Regions from separate parts of the Homo sapiens genome. Here region 2 is linked to region 1. Evidence: promoter capture Hi-C in human tissues and cell types (Jung and others, 2019). All regions are on one chromosome and are shown on one strand. The core of a region is centred on a gene start or on the middle of the fragment in contact, and the rest is flanking DNA. Distances in the headings are between cores, read along the strand shown.

Region 1 (2,700 bases), core at 156-2,655:
AGGGATGGATCTCCCATCCTCCCAGTATTTCTGCCACCCATCCTCTAACCCATTAAAAATAAGAAAAGTGAATAAAATTCTCCCCTTCAAAATAAGAGCTCTTAATATTTCAGTTCAATTAATTCCTGGCATTTTACCTATTCATGTTATTTTATTTTATTTTTTTAGTTTTAGTAGATAAGGGGGTCTCCCTGTGTTGCCCAGGCTGGTTTGGAACTCCTGGCCTTTAGTGATGATCCTCCCCTCTCAGCTTCCCAAAGTGTTGGGATTACAGGCATGAGCCATTTTGCCTGGCCAGGCAGGAAAATGGCGTGAACCCAGGAGGTGGAGCTTGTAGTGAGCCGAGATTGCGCTCCAGCCTGGGCAACAGACTGAGACACCCCTTCTCAAAAAAACAAAACGAAACAAAAAATCAGGGTAGCACTTCCATCCCCAGGCCCAGGCCACTCTTCTAAGTGCTGAGAGGATCTGAGCTCACGTGAGGCTGCCCTAGGCCTGCAGGGGCCATTCTCATCTTACAGAGGAGGGGCCAGAGGTGCAGAGAGGTGGGGTAACCTGCCCAGGCCATGGAGCTGGGCCACTTTCCTGGCCAGCCCTGCCAGCCTCTGCATCACGGGCCCTGCAGGAGGGAGCCTTTGGGAACCAGGCTCTCTTCTTCCTAAATTTTAAAATAAAAGCATTTCTCCTGATCATTGAGTTTTTCCGTATATTCCGTGTTACTGGTGTCATTATAAACGGTGAATGTGAATACTGATCATGGAGGAGGAGTGTGTGTTCAGGGTCATCTGCATCCTCCTCTGCCCACAGTGGAGACATCCTTGGAAGAGATGATTTGCCTTGTGCTTCAGAGATCATTGCCTCCCCACACCCTCTCCTAAGACTTTGTATTGAAACAAAGTAATCTTACACAAAGTTCATCAAAGCACTGTGAACAAAATTCCAGATTGCTCCCATCATCCTTTAGTTCAGTTCTCCCAGTTCCAGAGCCCAGGAATGGCAGGAAGCACACAGAGAGAGCACCCTCCCAAGGTGGGGAGCACTAGCCCAGCCATGACTCTTAGGGGAGAGTCTCAGCAGGGGTCTTGGGCTGGTGCAGGCCGGGGAGGCGGCCCGTTCAGAAGCAGCAGTGGGGTGACCACACAGCAGGGCAAAGAGCCTGGGTGGGAGTGGGGATGGCAGGGGAGCCAGAGGAGAAGGAGCCCAGGGCTGGGGCTGGGGCAGCGGGAGGCCAGGGCTGAGGCACAGAAGGGCTGCCAGGCAGGAAGTGGCAGCAGAGGGCCCAGTGGACAGAGTGGGCGGCAGTACCTGATCTGTGCTTCTGGCCACAGCTTCCTTAGCAGACTTGCCCCTGCTTGTCTGAGGCACTAAGTTTCACTTTTGGCAGCTCTCCCAAAAGTCACAAAAGGTCAGCTCTCCCAAAAGTCACAAAAAGTCACTGCTTGATGAGGGTGGCTCCACCCTCTTCCTTTTGTGGGACTGGAGTGGGAGGGCCCTGGGGTGCTTCAGATCCCTCAGGCTCCTTTCTTTCTCTATTTCCTCGGGCTTGGCAGGGGAAGTCTGATGGAGGTGGCTCACCTCCCATCCTCCCACCCCCAATTCCCTCTCCAGGTACAGCCAGACTCAACTCCCTCCCCAGGTATAGTTTACAAAAGAACAAAGGCCAGATGCGGTGGCTCACACCTGTAATCCGAACACTTTGGGAGGCTGAGGTGGGCAAATTACAAGGTAAGGAGATGAAGACCATCCTGGCCAACATGGTGAAACCCCGTCTCTGCTAAAATACAAAAAATTAGCCAGGTTTGGTGGCCTGCGCCTGTAGTTCCAGCTGCTTGGGAGGCTGAGGCAGGGAAATTGCTTGAACCTTGGAGGCAGAGGTTGCAGTGAGCCGACGTCGCACCACTGCACTCCACCCTGGCAACAGAACGAGACCCTGTCTCAAAAAATAAATAAATAAATAAAAATAAAAAAGAAAGAAAAAAGAAAGGAATTGATGGCTGGTCACGGTGCCTGTTATCCCAGCACTTTGGGAGGCTGAGGCAGGTGGATTGCCTGAAGTCAGGAGTTCAAAATCAACCTGGCCAACCGCACTCCAGCCTGGGCAATAAGAACAAAACTCCGTCTCAAAAACTAAACTAAACTAAAATAAATGAAAGGAATAGAAGCCACAGAAAGGAGCAGGGATCCAGACCAGGGCTGACACCATAGACCAGATGCCACTCCCCTGGTGGACAGGGCAGGCTGCAGCCCCCTCCCCACCACCCCACTGACCTTTGGCATTCAGCCTCCTGGCAGGACCCTGAGCCTGATGTGAAATGAGCACTGGGGTCAGGCTCAGGACTGCATCTCCAGCGGATCCAGTGCCCATTATCTAGCCCAGTCCCCAGATAGCACTGGGAGGGGAGGGCAGTGATCCTGACAGTCAGAGGAGGTCCCAAGCACAGAGAGGCTAAGATACTGTCCCCACGTCACACAGCAAATCAACAGCAGAGCTGGAGTGCTGGCCAGGACTTCCTGTGTCCCTTCTCCCCCACAGCTAGCTACTTTGAGGTTCTTCATTGCTCCATGGAAAGGAGCAGGAGAGGAGACACGAGGGAGGGGACTTACTGCTCCTAAAGGGCCTCCCAGGTCAGAGATGAAGGACCTGGACTTCACATTTGCATTCTGGAACCCATGTCCTCGTCTTCATGCATATCAACCAAC
Region 2 (2,700 bases), core at 36-2,535, 36 kb before region 1:
CCAGCTGGTTCAATGTCCAAAGAGGGCCTGTAGTGCTTTGTGGGGCCAGTCGGGTCTGGGCTCAGGGCCCAACACTAGCCCAGGGCTCCTCCTGTCGTCCCGCTCTGGCTGAGCTCTTGTCTAGGTGGGGAGGATGCACCCAGTGCCCTCCTCCCAAGTGTCCAGCCCTGTGTGAGGCCCTGAGCTGACTGAAGACACAGAGAGGAGGAGCTGGAGTTGGGGTCGGGTTGGGTGGTCTGCATGGCTTCCCACCTTGTCAACGCTGCCCCCATCTGTGTGTCTGACGCTGCAGCAGATGCCGACCTGGCCGAGGGGCCCCCTCCCTGGACACCTGCGCTCCCCTCAAGTGAGGTGACCGTGACCGACATCACCGCCAACTCCATCACCGTCACCTTCCGCGAGGCCCAGGCAGCTGAGGGCTTCTTCCGAGACCGCAGTGGGAAGTTCTGAATCACCGTTTTTACTCTTCTTAAACTGTTTTCTTTTGGGCTTGGGGTGGGACTTCCAGAGATAGGGATGGGTTGGGGGCGGGGTAATTATTTTATTTAAAAAAATACCGAGCAGCAAAAGGGGAGAAGATCCCACTACTCTCCCACCACCTGCCCTTTCTCTGAGGGACGTTTACCACGAGGCCTCAGGCTGGGGATGGAGAGAGTTGCTCTGGGAGTTGGGGTACCACCCCCAGGGCAGGATGGGGACAGGATCACCTGCCCGGGACACCACCATTATCATTCTCCTCTAGTGACGCAGCAGCTGGTTCTGGGAGTTAAAGGAGCATTGGAAGGCCCAAACCCTCTCCCTTGAGTGGCCACCCCAGCCTGGTTGGCTGGTTTTCCCCTTTTCTCTTGTTTCAATTGGGTCTTTACCTTGAACTCTCCTCTCTGGCTTTGCGGTGGGCTGTGGAGGCTGGTTTTGACCAAAAGTGAGTGGGGCGGGAGGAAGGGGCAGGAGGAAGGGTTGAGGTTACTTGGGGCGAGTCCCTTCCCCTTCAGAGAGGCTTCTATCCTTCCCAGGGAGGAGGCGCCGCTGAGACCCTTCTGCTGAGAGCTCTGCCCTCCCCTCATCACCTGGCCTGTGCAGAAACGCTCATGCACACCTGGCTGCACAGGTGTGCACGCATTACCCTTCGCGTGTACGTTCCCATGTGCCCCGTGAAAGCATGTGTGGCTGCAGACGTGTCCACATGGGCCTTGCGAACCTGGGTTAGAAACCCTGGCCAGGCGAACGTGGGGTGATTCACAGCACAAAAGACCTCACCACCACACCTGCACTCACCCCACCTTGCATGCACCTTGCTACCTGCTTGCGGCTTTCAGTGGAGGGCAGGGGTCTGGCACAGGTGCGATGGCACCCCATGCTCCAGGCATACAGATGTGGTTTCTCGGCTGCACCGGGCCAGGCTGCGGGTGTGCAGGCGTCTGCTAAGTTGTGTGATGTATCAGCACAGGCTTTGAGACGTCTGGACCCTGTCCTTCCTCCCGTGAGGGGTTCTTGTTCTTTCTGACTCAGGTGACTTTTCAGCCCTTCCAATTCCCCTCTTTTTCTGCCCTCCCCTCCAACTCAGCCAACCCAGGTGTGGGCAGTCAGGGAGGGAGGGAGTGTCCCACCACGTTCTCAGGGCAGCCCTTGACTCCTAAGCCCCTTCCTCCTTCCATTCTGCATCCCCTCCCCATCCAACCTAAATGCCACAGCTGGGGCTGAGCTGTATTCCTGTGGAGGGACCTCTGCCGTGCCTCTCTGAGGTCAGGCTGTGCTGTGTGATGGGCAGGCTTTGCCCCAGCCCACCCCTGGCAAGGTGCACTTGTTTTCTGGTTTGTACAAGGTGTCCTGGGGGCCCGTGGCTTCCCTGCCAGTGAGGAGTGACTTCTCCCTCTCTTCCAGTCCTGTAGGGGAGACAAAACCAGATTGGGGGGCCCAAGGGGAGCATGGAAAAGGCCGGCTCCCCTGTCTTTCCTTGGCTGTCAGAGTCAGGGTAACACACACCAAGAGTGGAGTGCGGCCAGCAAGTTTGAGACCTGCCCGCCCTCCTCGCAGCTCTGCTCTGTGTCCTCAGGAAGTCACAGAGTCTACTGAGGCAAGGAGAGGGTGATTCTTTCCCCAAATCCCTTCTTCCCTGGTTCCCAAACCAAAGACAGCCTGCAGCCCTTTCTGCATGGGGTGCTCTGTTGACAGGCTTCCCAGATCCCTGAGTCTCTCTTTCCTTCCTCCTCGATCTTTAGTTGTCCACGGTCAATTCAGTGCTTCCATTGGGGGACAGTCCCCTCCGGGATGACCTGATTCACCTCCAGCCCAGGGAATGGAATCTAGAGGAATACGTGGGGTGGGTCTGGACAAGGAGCGGCAGGAATCACCACCCATCTCCAGCTGTGGAGCCCTGTGGAGGGGAAGGGGAAGCTTGGGGTTCAGAGGGGACTCTTCCAGGAGAGGGGTGCCCAGCGGAGGTAAAGATGATAGAGGGTTGTGGGGGGTCTCTAGTTGAATGTTTTGGCCCATGACTTTGGAACATGGCTGGCAGCTTCCAGCAGAAGTCACGCTCCCCATCCCCCAGGGGACATAGGACCTTTTTCCTGCTTCCTGGTCACTTTCAAAGAACTATTTGCGCAATCTGTGGGTCTGTGGATTCACGGGGCTTTCTGTGTGGGTGCTGCAGTTGCTTTTGTCTGCAGCAGCAGGACACATCTTTCCTCTTACTCAGCCCTT

What was found. Contacts are between HindIII fragments. The study calls those that stand out against the background at their distance.
Region 2: a fragment that was not itself captured here is called in contact with the fragment with the promoter of APOBEC3H in region 1 in 3 of the 25 tissues and cell types used here (aorta, mesenchymal stem cells and spleen).

The regions. Positions count from the first base shown.
Region 1 is chr22:39,095,949-39,098,648 of GRCh38, reverse strand. It overlaps APOBEC3H (apolipoprotein B mRNA editing enzyme catalytic subunit 3H), which reads right to left and starts at 1,405. Exons shown (of 5, transcript NM_181773.5): 1 at 1,306-1,405. RefSeq lists enhancers at 1-873, 1,204-1,543, 874-1,761, 1,084-2,283. The HindIII fragment of the contact is 18,686 bases long and covers 1-2,700 here.
Region 2 is chr22:39,131,641-39,134,340 of GRCh38, reverse strand. CBX7 (chromobox 7) reads left to right here. Exons shown (of 6, transcript NM_175709.5): 6 at 293-2,700. The coding sequence ends at 450. Among named protein-coding and RNA genes, the nearest start is that of CBX7, 20 kb to the left of the region's middle. RefSeq lists enhancers at 1-29, 30-714, 2,354-2,700. The HindIII fragment of the contact is 4,160 bases long and covers 1-2,700 here.